Regions from separate parts of the Homo sapiens genome. Here all the other regions are linked to region 6. The links are contacts of gene promoters, found by promoter capture Hi-C in blood cells and fetal thymus (Javierre and others, 2016). All regions are on one chromosome and are shown on one strand. The core of a region is centred on a gene start or on the middle of the fragment in contact, and the rest is flanking DNA. Distances in the headings are between cores, read along the strand shown. Region 1 overlaps TTLL8 (tubulin tyrosine ligase like 8). Region 2 holds the start of MOV10L1 (Mov10 like RNA helicase 1). Region 3 overlaps MOV10L1 (Mov10 like RNA helicase 1). Region 4 overlaps MOV10L1 (Mov10 like RNA helicase 1). Region 5 overlaps MOV10L1 (Mov10 like RNA helicase 1). Region 6 holds the start of ALG12 (ALG12 alpha-1,6-mannosyltransferase).

Evidence for each region. Contacts are between HindIII fragments. The CHiCAGO score rates a contact against its expected background, and 5 or more counts as called.
Region 1: a contact is called between a fragment that was not itself captured here and the fragment with the promoter of ALG12 in region 6, in 7 of 17 cell types (M0 macrophages, endothelial precursors, erythroblasts and 4 more). The highest score is 11.9, in M0 macrophages.
Region 2: a contact is called between the fragment with the promoter of MOV10L1 here and the fragment with the promoter of ALG12 in region 6, in 6 of 17 cell types (M1 macrophages, erythroblasts, M0 macrophages and 3 more). The highest score is 12.5, in M1 macrophages.
Region 3: a fragment that was not itself captured here is called in contact with the fragment with the promoter of ALG12 in region 6 in 8 of 17 cell types (M1 macrophages, neutrophils, erythroblasts and 5 more); the score reaches 10.3 in M1 macrophages.
Region 4: a contact is called between a fragment that was not itself captured here and the fragment with the promoter of ALG12 in region 6, in 7 of 17 cell types (endothelial precursors, monocytes, erythroblasts and 4 more). The highest score is 8.1, in endothelial precursors.
Region 5: a fragment that was not itself captured here is called in contact with the fragment with the promoter of ALG12 in region 6 in 3 of 17 cell types (M1 macrophages, endothelial precursors and erythroblasts); the score reaches 8.4 in M1 macrophages.

The regions. Positions count from the first base shown.
Region 1 is chr22:50,050,487-50,053,186 of GRCh38, forward strand. The region is part of intron 3 of TTLL8 (tubulin tyrosine ligase like 8); the gene reads right to left. Among named protein-coding and RNA genes, the nearest start is that of TTLL8, 6.5 kb to the right of the region's middle. The HindIII fragment of the contact is 3,160 bases long and covers 1-2,700 here.
Region 2 is chr22:50,088,737-50,091,448 of GRCh38, forward strand. MOV10L1 (Mov10 like RNA helicase 1) reads left to right here and starts at 1,270. Exons shown (of 27, transcript NM_018995.3): 1 at 1,270-1,449. The coding sequence starts at 1,353. The HindIII fragment of the contact is 7,134 bases long and covers 1-2,712 here.
Region 3 is chr22:50,138,185-50,140,884 of GRCh38, forward strand. The region is part of intron 15 of MOV10L1 (Mov10 like RNA helicase 1); the gene reads left to right. Among named protein-coding and RNA genes, the nearest start is that of PANX2, 31 kb to the right of the region's middle. RefSeq lists a silencer at 1,694-1,878. The HindIII fragment of the contact is 7,627 bases long and covers 1-2,700 here.
Region 4 is chr22:50,161,606-50,164,350 of GRCh38, forward strand. MOV10L1 (Mov10 like RNA helicase 1) reads left to right here. Exons shown (of 27, transcript NM_018995.3): 27 at 1-82. Among named protein-coding and RNA genes, the nearest start is that of PANX2, 7.8 kb to the right of the region's middle. The HindIII fragment of the contact is 4,494 bases long and covers 1-2,745 here.
Region 5 is chr22:50,120,173-50,122,892 of GRCh38, forward strand. It overlaps MOV10L1 (Mov10 like RNA helicase 1), which reads left to right. Exons shown (of 27, transcript NM_018995.3): 10 at 330-444. Among named protein-coding and RNA genes, the nearest start is that of MOV10L1, 32 kb to the left of the region's middle. The HindIII fragment of the contact is 2,305 bases long and covers 167-2,471 here.
Region 6 is chr22:49,917,054-49,919,756 of GRCh38, forward strand. It overlaps ALG12 (ALG12 alpha-1,6-mannosyltransferase), which reads right to left and starts at 1,385. Exons shown (of 10, transcript NM_024105.4): 1 at 1,210-1,385. It overlaps CRELD2 (CRELD disulfide isomerase 2), which reads left to right and starts at 1,581. Exons shown (of 10, transcript NM_024324.5): 1 at 1,581-1,845; 2 at 2,177-2,259; 3 at 2,677-2,703. The coding sequence starts at 1,717. RefSeq lists silencers at 975-1,174, 1,285-1,784. The HindIII fragment of the contact is 6,188 bases long and covers 1-2,703 here.

The sequences.
Region 1 (2,700 bases), core at 166-2,665, 130 kb after region 6:
CAGCCTCCCAAGTAGCTGGGATTACAGGTGCCTGCCACTAAGGAAGGAGACCACTACTACTCCTGCTGCCCTCCTCCCCCACCTTGCCTAGTTCACAAGACAGGAGGAGAGAAAGAGCAAAAAGTTGGGGGAAAAGAAAAGTAAGATAAATAGCCAGACAACCTTGGCACCACCACCCAGCCCTAGGAGTTAAAAAAAGTAATAATAATAACATCAACCCCTGACCTAAACTACTTGTGTTATCTGTAAATTCCAGACACTGCATGAAAAAAGCATTGTAAAACTTTCTGTTCTGTTAGCTGATGCATGCAGCCCCCAGTCACGTTTCCCATGCTTACTTGATGTATCACGACCCTTTCACGTGGACCCCTTAAAGTTGTAAGCCTTTAAAAAGGCCAAGAATTTCCTTTTCTGGGAGCTCAGTTCTTAAGACGCGAGTCTGCTGACACTCCCGGCCGAATGAAAACCTCTTCCTTCTTTAATCCGGTGTCTGAGGAGTTTTGTCTGTGGCTCATCCTGCTACACCACCAGGCCTGGCTAATGTTTGTATTTTTTAGTAGAGATGGGGTTTCATCATGTTGGCCAGGCTGGTCTTGAACTCCTGACCTCAGGCGATCTGCCCACCTTGGCCTCCCACAGTGCTGGGATTACAGGCGTGAGCCACCGCGCCCAGCCCCAATATGTAATCTTTTATCCCTCTCTCCCCTCCCAATCTTCCCCCAAGTCTCCAAACTCTATCTTATCATTCTTATGCCTTTGCATCCTCATAGCTTAGCTCCCTCTTATGAGAACAAGCGATATTTGGTTTTCCATTCCTGAGTTACTTCGCTTGGAAGAATGGCCTTCAGCTCCATCCAGGTTGCTGCAAAAGACATTATCTGGTTCCTTCTTATGGCTGAGCAGTATTCCGTGGTGCAGATACACCACAGTTTCTTTATCCGCTCGTTGGTTGATGGGCATTTTGATTGGTTCCATATTTTTGCAGTTGTGAACTGAGCTGCTGCAAACATGCGTGAGCAAGTATCTTTTTTGTATCATGACTTCTTATCATCTGGGTAGATGCCCAGGAGTACGGTTGCTGGATCAAATGGTAGATCTACTTTTAGTCCTTTAAGGAATGTCCACGCTGTTTTCCACAGTGGTTGCACTAGTTTATATTCCCACCAGCAGCGTAAAAGTGTTCCCTGTTCACCACTTCCACGCGGACCTCTATTACTTTTTCACTCTTTCATTATGGCCATTCTTGCAGGAGGAAGGTGGTATCACATTGTGGTTTTAATTCGCATTTCCCTGAGAATTAGTGATGCTGAGCGCTTTTTCACGTTTGTTGGCTGTTTGTATAGTATTTTAAGTCAAGGAATTGAAAAATAAGTTGATTATTTTTCTGTAAGAGGAGTTTTCAAAGCAGAAGGAGACAAACTGTGCTCTGGCAGGAAGACATCTGCTCAAAGAAGACCATGCCCACACCCAGGCACACAGCGGACGAAGCGGCACAATTACAGCTGTAGCTGGGAACCCTGAGTCTGAGTCCCAGCACCCATACGAGACATCCGGTCGGTCCCAGCACCTCTCTGGGAACCCCGAGTCTGAGTCCCAGCACCCACACGAGACATCTGGTTGGTCCCAGCACCGCTCTGGGCCGCTGTCTACTCCGATAATCAGTCTGAGGCCTGTCACCCGCCCACGTGGCTGTGCACGTGAATGAGCCTATCACCCGAGGCTTTGGGGAGAACGGTGGGGGAGCTGGACAGTCCGCAAGAGGGCTGGCACCCTCCGACTCCACAAGACACTCTGCCACCCCCAACACCCTGCTTAGCTGTGGTCAAACTGAGTAACTTTAGAAAAATGGATGGGCAGAATACAATTCCTAAGGAAACCACCAAAGGAATAAAAACAGCGTAAGATTTCCAACAGGTAAGAGAGGGGAAAGGGGGATTTAAAAAGTAACCAGTCCGGGAGAGCACATGAAAGGAGAGGAAAGGAAAATTGAACCAAAGGAACGTACTAAATGAATGAAGATAACAGACACACCTGAATACATCAACGGTTTAATTATAGATAAATACACTAAATGCTCCAGACAAAAGGCAAAGAGACCATCAAACACATAGGTATACAGATGATGGGGTAGAAAAGGAAAAGATAGAAATATGAGACAAAATAGTCTTTGGGACAAATAAACATTACTAAGGTAAAGAAAACCATTTCATAATTTTAAAAAGATTCAATTCACTAGAAAGATACATGTGTATGCACCTATTAAGAAGGCATTAGTTATAAAAAACAAAACTAGAACTACAAAGTAGACAAACCCAAGATTATAATAGGGTATTTTAACCTGCTTCTCTCAGTAATTGATAGAATGCACAGACCAATAAGTTCCATAAGACTTTAGAGGATTTGAACAACTCAAATAACAAACTCTACTCTAGTGGCTATAAACAGCTCACTCTGGCGGAGCACGGTGGGTCAAGTCAGTAATCCCAGCACTGTGGGAGGCCGAGGTGGGTGGATCACCTGAGGTCAGGAGTTCAAGACCAGCCTGGCCAACATGGTGAAACCCCGTCTCTACTAAAAATACAAAAATTAGCCGAGCATGGTGGTGCACACCTGTAGTCCCAGCTACTCAGGAGGCTGAGGCAGGAGAATCGCTTGAACCTGGAAGGCAAAGGTTGCAGTGAGCCAAGACTGTGCCACTGC
Region 2 (2,712 bases), core at 20-2,519, 170 kb after region 6:
TGATCTCAGCTCACTGCAACCTCCACCTCCTGGGTTCAAGTGATTCTTCTGCTTCAGCCTCCCAAGTAGTTGGGATTACAGGCATGCGCCACCATGCCTGGCTAATTTTTTTTGTATTTTTTTGTAGAGACAGGATTTTGGCAGGTTGACCAGGCTGGTCTCGAACTCCTGACCTCAAGTGATCTGCTCACCTTGGCCTCGCAAAGTGTAAAGATATTTTTAAAATAGAGAAAAATCAATGAAATCAAGGGATGATTTTTTTTAAAAACTCAATAAAATTGATAAATATAGACTGATCAAGGAAAATGAGAGGGATGAGATAAATTACCTATGTCAAGAATGAAAGATGGCTCATCATTATGGACCATACAGACGTTAAAAGGATAATAAGGAAATATGCTGAACAACTTTATGCCAATAATCTGACATCTAATAATTGGATGAAATGGACAAATTCCTTAAAAGAATTACCAAAGTTTATTCAATATTACCTTGATAACTTGAATAGCCCTCTAGCTGATGCAGAAGTGAATTTCTCATTAAAAACCTTCCCACAAAGAAATCTCGAAGCCCAAATGGGTTCCCCAGCGAATACTACCACAATTTTTAGGGAATAAGTTACCCCATCCTACTCCCAGGTCACTGCAGGCCCGGCTTAAACCGACCCCAAACCAGACAGACACAGAAAACGGGAGGTCGGCCACAGAGCAATCTGCTTCACCAGCACCGTCCCCAACCTTGGACAAAGCGTTACCAAGCTGAGTCAGGCAATACACCAAAAGGATAACGAATCGTGACCAAGTGAGTTTTCCAAGGAGAGCCAAACAATGTAATTCCCTATGGGCTGAAATAAAAAGCTACAGGATCATTTGAATACATGCAGAAAAGCGTTGCAGAAAATTTCACACCCACTCATAAGAACTCTTGGAAAAACAGGAATAGAGGGAACTTCCTCAACTTGATAAAAAACACCAACAAAAAACGACTCCTAACATCACTCTGGGTGGTGAAAGCGCACTTTTCCCTAATGTGTGGGCGGCAAGAAGGCGGACCCGCTCGAAGCTCCGCCCACCCACGCGAGGCCCCGCCCGCCCGCTCGAAGCCCCGCCCACCCGGCGGTCACACCGCCTTGCGCGCTCGGCATGACGTCACTCCCACCAGGCACCTCGCCTTGTCAGGAGCTGCCAGGCGCCAACCGCCGACCTCTGACCGCTACGGGTCCCGGCTCGCGCAACGACCCCAAGGCGCATGCCCAGGCGCGGCGACCCCATTGGTGGCGGGCGGCGGGAGCGGCGCGGGCGCGTGCGGGCGGCGGCAGCGGCGGTGACGGCAGCCTAGGCCGGGCGAGGGCCATGCTGAGCCTCGCAGCCAAGCTGGTGGCCTTCTTCTGGAGGACGGCGGACACCCCTAGGGAGGAAGCCGGGCAGCTGGAGCCCGAGCTCGCGGAAGGTGGCTCGCGGGAGGCGGCTGGGAGGCGGGTCCCGGGCCCTCGCGTGTCGGCCACGAGGGAGCCGCGCCCATAGGTCTTTGAGTGCAGTGCGGGCCGGCAGGCAACGCTGGGCCCGGCCTTTCCTCATCTCCGCTGGCGGGGATCCCCGTTCGCCTCAGGAGGCTTCCGACCCCACAGCATCCCGCCGCTCTGGGCGCCCGTCCTCTGTGAGGTCTCTCCGGTGACACCAGCCCCTCTTCCCGCCCTCACTTTGTGTGTTTACGCCGAGCAGCTGCCAAGTCGTCTCTCCATGTCGTTCCTCCCTGTCCGCAGCGTCATTGGCGGTGGTGTGTCTAGAAAGCCCCGAAAAACGCGGCCCCGCAGACTTGGCCTGTCCTTTCAGAACGCGCTGCGCCAAGGCGTGCCATTTCCTTGTCTGGTTTTCAAGCCCATCTTTCTAAAGCCCGGGATGCGCCCGGATGCCCTCACCGTTCCTTTCTCCTGAGGTGTTTGTGTGTGTGTGTGTGTGAGACGGAGTTTCGCTCTTGTTGCCCAGGCTGGAGTGCAGTGGCGCAATCTCGGCTCACCGCAACCTCCGCCTTCTGGGTTCAAGTGATTCTCCTGCCTCAGCCTCCCGAGCAGCGGGGATTATAGGCACCCGCCACCACGCCCGGCTAATTTTTGTATTTTTAGTCGAGGGGGGGTTCGCCATGTTGGTCAGGCTGGTCTCGAACTCCTGATCTCAGGTGACCCACCCACCTTGGCCTCCCAAAGTGCTGGGATTACAGGCTTGAGCCACCACGCCCGACCTCTCCCGAGGTTCTGATGGCTTCTCCCGATGTTTCCTTATGTGGGAATGGAATCCACAGTAGTGGGTCCCTAATTGCCTTCTGTGAGAAAAGACAGGAACAGGCTTCAGGAGGGGAGCTTCCTGCTGCAGGCAGCGTGTTCAGGGCCTCTGGATCCACGAGGGCCGATGCCCGGGGGGCCGGCTGTGTTACCTGGAGCACTTGCTCCGTGGATCTCTTCGGTAGAACACGCGCTCAGCGGTAGCTGGAGCTCCAGCTCTTGGCAGCGCTCAGATCCTATGCCTGTACTGTAACCGTCGCCCCAGGTTCCTCCCGTGGCTGGGAAGCTGCAGTAAAGGCACGTTCAGGACTCAGGACCGTGGCTGCAGCAGTGGCCAGACGGCTGAGGGCGTGCGCTGCTCCTGGGCCAGACTTGTCTGCCCAGCCCCGAACCTTTTCCAGCACCGTGTTTGTTGAGATTCTCCAGTCTTCCGA
Region 3 (2,700 bases), core at 146-2,645, 220 kb after region 6:
ATCAGGGCATGTTTCCTCAGCATTTCTGCCCAGCATTGTGCATTGTAGACAGGCAATGAAGCAGAAAGAACAGGCATCCGCATCCTGTAGAAAGTCTGATGGAGGCCGGGTGTGGTGACTCGTGCCGGTAATTCCAGCACTTTGGGAGGCTGAGATGGGAAAATCACTGAGAACAGCCTGGGCAACATGCAAGACCCTGTCTCTATTTTTAAAAAGTTTAAAAATTAGCTGGGCATGGTGGCACACACCTGTAGTCCCAGCTACTCAGGAGGCTGAGGCAAGAGGATCCCTTGAGCCTGGGAGGTTGAGGCTGCAGTGAGCTGTGATTGTACCACTACACTCCAGCCTGAGTGATGAAGTGAAACCCTGTCTCAAAAAAAAAAAATAGAAAAGAAAAAAAATCTGATGGAATCTAAAATGAAGCTGTTAGAACTAATAAGTGATTTTGCAAGATACAAGATCAGTGTAGAAAAATAAGTTGTATATATATTTCCAGTAAACACTCAGAAATTGTTTTTTGGTGTTTTGTTTGTTTGTTTTGAGACAGTCTCGCTCTGTTGCCCAGGCCGAGGTGCAGTGGCGGATCTCGGCTCACTGCAACCTCCGCCTCCCAGATTCAAGCAGTTCTCCTGCCTCGGCCTCCTGAGTAGCTGGGATTATAGGTGCGTGCCACCACACCCTGCTAATTTTTGTATTTTTAGTAGAGACAAGGTTTCACCATGTTGATCAGGCTGGTCTCAAACTCCTGACCTCATGATCCGCCCACCTCAGCCTCCCATAGTGCTGGGATTACAGGCGTGAGCCACCATGCCAGGCCTGAATTTTTTTTTTTTTTTAAGTAGCACCTAAATGTTTTAAACATTAGGGATACATCTGACAAAAGATGGGCAACAAAAGACGTAAATCAATGGAGGGAGATATTAGTATCTCTTGGGCCGGAAGATTCCATATTATCAAGTTACCTGTTTTACCTCACGTGGTCTGTAAATGCAGGGCACGCGCAAAACATGGACCTGGGTCCATAGCTCACAGCGCAGACAAAAACTAACTTACTCTGCGGTTTATAGCCGCAATGTCAAGCCTAAAACTATGCATCTAGGAAACAGCATAGAAGAACATCTGCACGTCCTCTGTTTGGGCAAGGATTTTTTTTTATGTGACACTAAGAGCATGACTTACAGAGAAATGGATAAATTGGACTTCAGTGAAATTAAATATTTTGCTGCTGAAAAGACATTGTTAGACAGTAAGGTACAATGGCATACACTTTTAGTCCCAGTGACCCAGGAGACTGAGGCTGGAGGATCTCTTGAGCCCAGGAGTTCCAGGCTAGCCTGGGCAACATAGAAAAACTCTGTCTCAAAAAAAAACAAAGAAAAAAAAAAGACACTGGTAAGACAATGAAAAGTGACAGACTAGAGAAAATATTTGCAAATCACATCTGATCAAGAACTTGTATTCGGAAAACATATGAAAGTACTCTACAAACTGCCTAAGAACTCAATTTTTTATAATGGATCAAACACTTGAACACTTTACCAGAGAATACATACAGATGGTAATAAACACATGAAAGATGTTCAACATCATTAGTTGTTAGGGAAACACAAGTTAAACCACAATGAGGTACCACTGAACACCTGCTAGAATGGCCAGAAATTGAGTTGGGCCATCTGCGCGTTGGTGAGCCCGTGGGGCCGCTGGCACGTACCCTGCTGTGGGAATGGGGAGTGGCACACCACTGTGCAAAAGGTGTTTTTAAGAAGCTGGACGCGCACCTGCCATACAACCCAGCCATTTCTCTCTAGAGAGATGAAGACATAAGGCCACGTGAGGACCCATACACAAAGTTCACAGCAGCTGGGTTTTTAATCACCAAAAACGAAACAACCCAGTGTCCGTGAGCAGGTGAATGGATAAGCAAGTTGCATTGTGTTCGTACAATGGAACATGACTCAGCAATACAAGGAGCAAACTGTTGACATGCAACAACACAGGTGGCTCTCCAATGAATCACACTGTGTGCATTTATATGAAGTATGAAGTTCGAGAGCATGTGAGCCAGCCAGTGCCACTGGAGGGGCTGCGGCACAAGGCGGCTCTGGGGACTGACAGGTCTATTTGTCATCTTGATTGTGCTGATGGTTTTATGGGTATGTGCACGTCAGACTTGTCAAGTCACACACTTTAAATATGTGCACCTTATTGTATGTCAGTCACACTCTGCAAAACACAATGGTTGTGGGAGGAGGTTATAGGCATAACCTTCTAGACCATGGGTGTCCAATCTTTTGGCTTCCCTAGGCCACGTTGCAAGAAGAATTGTCTTGGGCCACACATAAAATTCACTAACACTAATGATAGCTGATGAGCTGAAAAAAATATGTATCACAAAAAAATCTTATAGTGTTTTAAAAAGTTTACGAGTTTGTGTTGGGTTGCATTCAGAGCCATCCTAGGCTGTATATAGTCCATGGGCCGCTGGTTGGACAAGCCTGTTTTAGACTAAAACTTAGCAATGTGTGTAAATTTTTTAACGTGAAACTTTTTTTTTTTGAGACAGAGTCTTCCTCTGTCCTCCTAACTGCAGTGTAGTGTCGCAATCATGGCTCACTGCAACCTTGACCTCCTGGACTCTAGCAGTCCTTCCACCTCAGCCTCCTGAAGTGCTCAGATTATAGGTGTGAACCACTACCCCTG
Region 4 (2,745 bases), core at 175-2,674, 240 kb after region 6:
TGACTTTGGCATATGCCAGCCTGTTCCTGCCACAGGGCAGTCACTGCCGCCTACCCTGAAATAAACCCTCGAGTGACCCCCAGAAGCCTTTCCACCTCGAGATGTGTGCCCGTGTCAGTGGTGACCAGGGTTTCATGTGGCCTCTCAGCCCTGCTGGCGCAGTTTTTGGAGATGGCTTGCTGTCCACTTCACCTGAACTAGCCGTGTGTCAGGCTCCAGGCAAGGCTGCCAGCTCCACTCAGCAGAGCGCCAGGGCCATGGACCAGGCATGCAGAGCCCACAGGGCCTGAGGCTCTACATGGGGCCAGGGTTGTGAGGGTGGCACTCAGGCCTGCCCTAGGCCCAGTGCTTCTGGGAGTTTGCAGCTGGGCGGGTTCCTGGGTGCAGGCCTGCACCCTAGGGGTACTGAGTTTAGGGGTCCTTAGAACACATCTCTGGGCCAGAAATAAAACACGTGGAGATGGGCAACGCACCTCAGGCCAGGAGGAGCAGAGCAGTGGCAGGAAGAACACTTGGGGTGAGCCCCGCACTGTCCTCAGCCTGGTGCAGGGTCTCAGTACAGCAGCCCGGCTGGAACACAGGACCCCCAGGCTCGGAGATGCCGCCTGCATACACCCAGGGCCCCAGAGGAGGCCAACACCGCTTTACGGGGGGTCTTACCTGGCCTATGCCCCCATCCCCACAGCGAGACACAGACCAGCAGCCGACTAGAAGGGTGCAGGCTTGGCCCACCTCAAAGTTTGGGAGCCTTGCCCTGCACCCTCCCCCACCCCCTCCCCCACGACTTGCTCCCAGGAAACAAATGCTCAGTGTCTCCACTTAGAGGTAGCGTCTGCTTGGCAAGCAGAAACCACTGTCTCCTGAAGGTCTCAAGACACCAGGGATCATGTCTGTTTACTAAACTTGTGGGTGATGCTAAGATCTGTGGTCACAACTCCAGGGAGTACTTGATGTAGGAGGAAGCACTTTCCAGACAGGCGGCGTCATGTCAGGGCCCAGGACTGCATGCGGCATCACCTGCTGTGGCTTCTGCATGAGTTGTGTTTAGGAACTGAAGGGTTTCTCCAGGCAGAGCTGTCATTGCTGTGCTAAGGGGTGCGTGGAGGCCCAGGCAGAGCCCCCATGCGTGGAGGCCGCTGTGCCCAGTGCTCCTGCAGCCAGCGTTTGCTGGACTCTCTCTGCAGAGCAGAAGTCCTAGGGCAAGGACCTCTCCATCCTGTCAACCCCAAATCGAAGGGATGCCCCCCACGGAGGCTGGGGACTTTTCTGACCCAGGTGAGGGGATCATTGGGGTCAGCCCTGACACTGAGAGGCCACCTCTCTGGGCTCAGTGACCTGGATGTCCTGGCAGGTGGGAGAGACGCAAGAAGCAGGTGTGGGGTCCACACTTGAGGGAGTGCTCTTGGGCAGAGACGTGGGGAGCCAGTGTTGAGGCTGGGCAGGTGTCCTCAGCTGGGGGACACCTCAGCAATGATCTGGCGTGTGCCCAGGGTGGCAGGAGACCAGGCGGGGTCATTCTATAAAGGACTCGGGGCACCTGTTTGCTGGTGCAAGAGTGGCAGGGAGGCTGTCAGGTGACAGGGAGGGAGGGGAAGAGAAGGAGGTCAGTGAGGAGGCTGCCCTGGAGGGGCCCAGGCTACAGGGAAGGCAGCACTGCTCAGCCAGCCATGAATCCCTGCAAAGCAAGGCAAGGGAAGCAAAGGCAAGTGGGGCCTGCAGGCAGGTGTCGTCTGCACAGGATTTGGGGCTTTTTTTAAGACAGGGTCTTGCTCTGTTGCCCAGGCTGGAGTGCAGTGGCACAATCATGGCTCACTGCGTCCTCAACCTCCCAGCCTCAGGTGATCCTCCCACCTCAGCCTCCCAAATAGCTGACACTACAGGTGTACGCCATCACACCTGGCTAATTTTCTGTAGAGACAGGGTTTCGCCATGTTGCCCAGGTTGGTCTCGATTTCCTGGGCTCAAGTGTTCCACCCACCTCAACCTCCCAAGTAGTTGAGATCACAGGCGTGTGCCACCACAGCTGGCTAATTTGTTTATTATTATTTGTAGAGACGGTCTTGCTATGTTGGCCAGGCTGCTACACAGAGGTCTTAAACTTTGGTGCTTGGAGTCCCCTAAATGAAACCTTAAGGGAGTGCATCTCTTCCCTCGTTTTTTTGGTTATCTAAGATTTTTCTTCTTCACATTTTAAACGTGCTTATGATGTAAGTCACAGCTTATTATAAATCTTGCCATTTCATTTATTTTTATTTTATTTTATTTTTTTTTTTATTTATTTTTTTTTTTTTTGAGACAGAGTCTTGCTCTGTCGCCCAGGCTGGAGTGCAGTGGTGCGATCTCGGCTCACTGCAAGCTCCACCTCCCGGGTTCACACCATTCTCCTGCCTCAGCCTCCCGAGTAGCTGGGACTACAGGCGCCTGCCACAACGCCCGGCTAATTTTTTGTATTTTTAGTAGAGACGGGGTTTCACCGTGTTAGCCAGGATGGTCTCCATCTCCTGACCTGGTGATCCACCTGCCTCGGCCTCCCAAAGTGCTGGGGTTACAGGCATGAGCCACCACGCCCGGCCCAAATCTTGCCATTTTCCTTTTCAGTGTATCCAGTGCAACAAAAAATGCCATTACAGTTTGATACCATCATCCACTTAGAGGACACCAGCAAGCTGTTCTTTCACAGCTAGAAAGTTTATTTCTTCTTTTCCTTGAACTCATATTTCTATTCCACTCCCCCCCATATTTGTA
Region 5 (2,720 bases), core at 69-2,568, 200 kb after region 6:
AGCTCATAGAATGTTAAAAACAGCTGTTTCCAAACTCCTGGTTCCAGGAGATTCTGGGGGTTCCAGCCCTGTTTTCCCACAGCCTGTGCAGCTACACTTACCTGTTTACAAATAGTAGAGCACTTGTGGGAACTGTTTGAGGAAAGGATCCCAGAGCTAAAACGAAAGCTTCAAACCACTGCCTTAGACCAGCTATTCATATATCAGTTCTTCTCAGGAAATGGATGGACTTTGGTCTTCCTAAAATAGGAAAGGATGTTTAGGTAAGAATGTCTAGTGATACCTGGTGATAAAGACTTATTTTTAACTTGTGAACTTAATTTTTTAAGGAACTCAAGACGACAACTTCCAAGTTTTCTTCCCCAATATCCAATCCCAGATAGACTTAGAAAATGTGTGGAACAAAAAATTGACATCCTGACTTTCCAGCCATTACTTGCAGAGGTAGGAAGTGTCTCATGGCCTGTGGGGTGTTGGCATCTTCTAATGCTCTTGTTTTCTGACAAAGCCAGGAGGTTCCTTCTCAGGTTCAGACCTTCATCTGGCTTGTTTTCTTCACAGGTAGCTGGGATAACGAGGGTCACTGCCTGGCCGTGAGGGATGAGGCACCATAGCACTCACGCTGCCAGACCTGCTGTACACCAGGGGCTGGCATCCCACAGCCTCACTGGGGGTCACGCACAGGGCCTTTGGGGTCTGGAGCAGAAGAACTGAGGGATACCTCTGCCATCAGCCTGGCCTCTCTCGCTAGACTAGGAGGCCTTTGTTATGAGCAAGAAGTGTTCTAGCCTTTTACCATCATCCTGACAGAGCCAGCAGGGCAAGGGTCCAGGGGAGGAGAGCCCAGGTCCCCACCCACATGGGAGACAGAGGAGCACGTTCTGAGTGGGGTAGGTGGAGAAGAAAAGTTCAAGAAGGAAGAAAAGTCTATAAATTTGGCAGTTTGAGGGGAGAACATTGCCCTTTGTCCAGGAGGGTTTTTTTCTGTAGGGGTTTGAGGTGTTCTGAGAGTCCCCAGCTAAACTGGAGTTCCAGTGCCAGAGCAGCTGGCAGCCCTGTCCTAAGGAGAATGAAGGGAATGGGACCTAGGTGTTCACCATGCGCCCTTCAGGGGATCCTTTCCAAATACACCTCCTTGTTTAAAAAAATGTCCTTGTTTTACCAGGAGGACAGCTGATGCCCCATGACCGGGGTTCCTCACGCAGGAAACTTATTCTGGCAGACGCCCCAGTGGCTCTCGTCTGACCTGTATCCAGGTTATGCCTGCCTGATCATCTGGCACTGGGAGCCCAAACTTATGTTCCCCAATGCCAGGGAAAACCCGGCCTGGGCAGTGCTGGGTTCTTAGGATGGAAGGTGCAAATTCAATCCACTGCCGTGATAGAAACAAGTTCAGATGTGTTTTACTCACAGATCCTGGGCAGGGAGGTTGCCATGAGTCGCGAGCGCAGTCCTCTGTCCCCCAGTCACTTTGAGTTTGTAGGCAAATGCCTGAATGGTTCATCGAGGTGGCAGAAAAAGCTGGACCTGGGTCTGCTAGGATGGAGAGGTGCTCCTCAGCTCCTCCCTGGGGACCCAGGTCTGCTGGGCTTGGAGGGTGCTCCTCAGTTCCTTCCACAGGCCACCGACTTGATGTTTTGATGCTGCAGCTTTGTAGTAAGTTTTGAAATCAGGAAATTTGAGTCCTCCAGCTTTGTTGTTCTTTGGCAGAATTTATTTTGCTTTTCAAGATCTTTTATACGAATTTTAAGATGCATTTTTCTATTTCTGCAAAATATAGCATTGGAATTTTTTTTCCCCAGAGACGAGGTCTCACTACATTGCCCAGGCTGGTCTCAAACTCCTGGCCTCAAGTATTCCTCCCGCCTCAGCCTCCCAAAGTGCTTGGGATTACAGGTGTGAGCCACTGCACCCGGCCTGTCATTGGAATTTTGATGGGAATTGCATTGAATCTGTAGATTGCGTTGGTTAGTATGGACATTTTAACAATATTGAATCCTCCAGGCTATGAACATGGAATGTGTTAACATTTATTTATGTCTTCTTTAATTTCTTACAGCAGTGTTTTGTCATTTTCTCTGTATATGTTTTTCACTTCTTTGGTTAAATTAATTTGTAAGTATTTTATTATTTTTGCTGCTGTTGTAAATACATTGCTCTCATAGCTGCCTTTTCAGATTCTTCAGTGTTGTTTAGAAATGAAGATAATTTTTGTCCTTTGATTTTGTACCCTGCTACTTTGCTGAATTTATTTATTCTAACAGTTTTTTGTGGAATCTTTTAGAGTTTTCTACATATAAAATTATGCATGCCATCTGCAAACAGATAATTTTATTTCTTCCTTTCCAATTTAGATGCCTTTCATTTCCTTTTCTTGCCTAATTGCTCTGGCTAGAACTTCTAGTACCATGATGAATAGCAGTGGTGAAAGCAGGCATCCTTCCCTTGGAAGTTCCTGATCTTATGGGAAAAGCTTTCAATCTTTCACCATTGAGTATGATGTTAACAGTGGGTTTTTCATATATGACTTTCATCATTTTGAGGTGATGGTTTTCTTTCTTTCTTTCTTTCTTTCTTTTTCTTCTTTTCCTTTTTCTCTTTTTTATTTATTTATTTATTTATTTATTTTTGAGACAGGCTCTCCTGTCGCCCAGGCTGGAGTGCAGTGGCGCAATCACAGCTCACAGCTGTGACTGCAGCGGCACACCACCATGCCCGGC
Region 6 (2,703 bases), core at 135-2,634:
AAGACCAAGGGTGAGTCTGGATTCTCTGCCAGGAGCACGGGAAGACCAAGTCAACACCAGCAAGCACGAAAACCACGACGAACCCCCCACCAGGCGAGGGTGAACGGACACTGTCCTGCACTAGCCCACTCTGCTGGGCAGCTGGGCAGCAGCTGTGGCTAATCTAAGTGACGGGTGCTTCGAGAGCACCCACAGGTTAAAACGGGCCCAGGCCATGACACTTTAAAATGGTGGTTTACAGAACAATGGCATCTCAGATTAGGGAATGACCTGCAAAGACCCTCTTGTCCCCATCAATCCAGATTTTAAGGCCTCTACCGAAATTGATCAAATCAGGCTAAGCATGGTGGCTCACGCCTGTAACCCTAGCACTTTGGGAGGCTGAGGCAGGCAGATCGCTTGAGGTCAGGACTTCGAGACCAGCCTGGCCAACATGGTGAAACCCCGTCTCTACTAAAAATACAAAAATTAGCCGGACCTGGTGGTGGGTGCCTGTAATCCCAACTTAGGAGGCTGAGGCAGCAGAATCACAGGAACCTGGAAGGCGGAGCTTGCAGTGAGCTGAGATCGCGCCACTGCACTCCAGCCTGGGCGACAAAGTGAGACTCCGTCTCAAAAAAACAGAAAAGAAACTGGTCAAATCAGATGTTACTTTTTTTTTTTTTAAATGTGCAGTGTTATCTGCACTCCTTCCTTCCACAGGCAGGAGTTCTCTGAAATCCAGACGCTGCACGTTTTATTTCCCCTAATTTAAACCAGGGGTTCCTGAACATGAGCGAGTGTTCATCACCTCAAGCGCCTGTAGAAATGCAGATCCCCAGCCCCCAGAGACCCTAAGTGGACCCCAGATCCCCAGCCCCCAGGTGAAAAACCCATCCCCCAGGTGGGAGGTCCGGCCCCAGGTGAGGAGCCCGGCCCCAGGTGAGAGGTCCAGCCCCAGGTGAGAGGTCGGGCCCCCGGATGAGAGGTCCGGCCCCCGGGTGAGAGGTCTGGCCCCCAGGTGACAGGTCCAGCCCCAGGTGAGGAGCCCGGCCCCAAGTGAGGGGTGCAGCCCCAGGTAAGGAGCACGGGGCTGTGACGCGTGGACATGCGCGGTGAGGCCTCAGGAATCCAGCGCCAGCGCCAGCTCGGGTCGCGCCCTCGCCCGCCTCCTCCCTGGTCTCGCCGCGCGCCCGCCTGAAGGCCCCGGTCGCGGCAGCGCGCACTGACCTCCGCAGCTCCCGGCGGCGTCCTTCGAAGCGCGGCTGCCTGGGCCAGCCTCGGCAGGAAGCAGGACGGCGGAAACAGAACAGAGCCCGAATCTAAAGTCCTTGCCCAAATCTAAAGTGGCTACCGCAGCCCCGGCCGCTACGGCCGCAGAGACCCTCTGTGCCCTGAGTAAAGATGGCCGCCGCGGGCTGCGCGCGAGGGGCGGGGAGCGGGAGGCGGGGTCGGACCTGCACGCCCCGCCCCCGGACTCCTGGCGGCCGCTGATCCGGGGCCTTCCCATTGGTCACCTCTCGTGGCGAACTCGGATTGGGCCATATCAGGCCGGGGCGGGTCCCATCAACCAATAGCGGCGCGGGGCTGGCGGGTGGGGCGGGGCCTCGCCGGCGCCGTCAAGTAGCCTGGGGGACAGGCCGGCGCGGCTGGGAGCGGGTGGGCGGCCGGGAGGCCGGAGCAGCACGGCCGCAGGACCTGGAGCTCCGGCTGCGTCTTCCCGCAGCGCTACCCGCCATGCGCCTGCCGCGCCGGGCCGCGCTGGGGCTCCTGCCGCTTCTGCTGCTGCTGCCGCCCGCGCCGGAGGCCGCCAAGAAGCCGACGCCCTGCCACCGGTGCCGGGGGCTGGTGGACAAGTTTAACCAGGTGGGAAGGGGCCGGGCGGGGTCGTCAACCTTGGGCCCGGGGTCCCCCTCACCCTGCATCCGGGGTCGCCCCACCTTGGGCCCAGGGTCGCCCTCACCCTGGATCCGGGGTCCCCCTCACCCTGGATTCGGGATCCCCCTCACCGTCGATCCAGAGTCCCTCCACCGTGGTCCTGGAGTCCCCCTCACCCTTGACCCGGATCCACCCCCACCGTGGAACCAGGGTCGACGCCACCGTGGGCCTGGAGTCCCCTCACCCTCGACCTGGGCTCGCCCCCACCCTGGACCCGGGTCAGGTGGTACCAAGCACTATGGGCACTGTCTCCTCGCAGGGGATGGTGGACACCGCAAAGAAGAACTTTGGCGGCGGGAACACGGCTTGGGAGGAAAAGACGCTGTCCAAGTACGAGTCCAGGTGGGTGCCCTGGAGCACCCCTGTGGGTCTTGGCCTGGCGCTGTCCTGGGAAGTCGTGTCCTGCCTTTGGTGCCTGTGTTAATGACAGGGAGACAGAACAGCCCCCGAGGCACCAGTCACCCGTCCGAGTCACCTCGGCTTCTCCCTGAGGACTAATGGCTGGCCCCTCTCTGGCCTTCCAGCTTCTGCTCTGGTCCCTACCCCCTCAACAGACAGTGGCTTTTCAAAATGTAAACTGGAACACCAGCCCCACTTGTGGGAACCGCTCCTGGCTTCCCCTGACAGTGGGGTCCCCTTATTCTCTGTGCCCGGAGTCCTGGCTCCCCGGCCCCTGCACCCAGGTTGGCGTATTGGTTCGGATTTTTCTTCACTGCCTTGGAGGCGCTGACGGTGGGCCGGTGTGGGCCTGTGTTTCAGCGAGATTCGCCTGCTGGAGATCCTGGA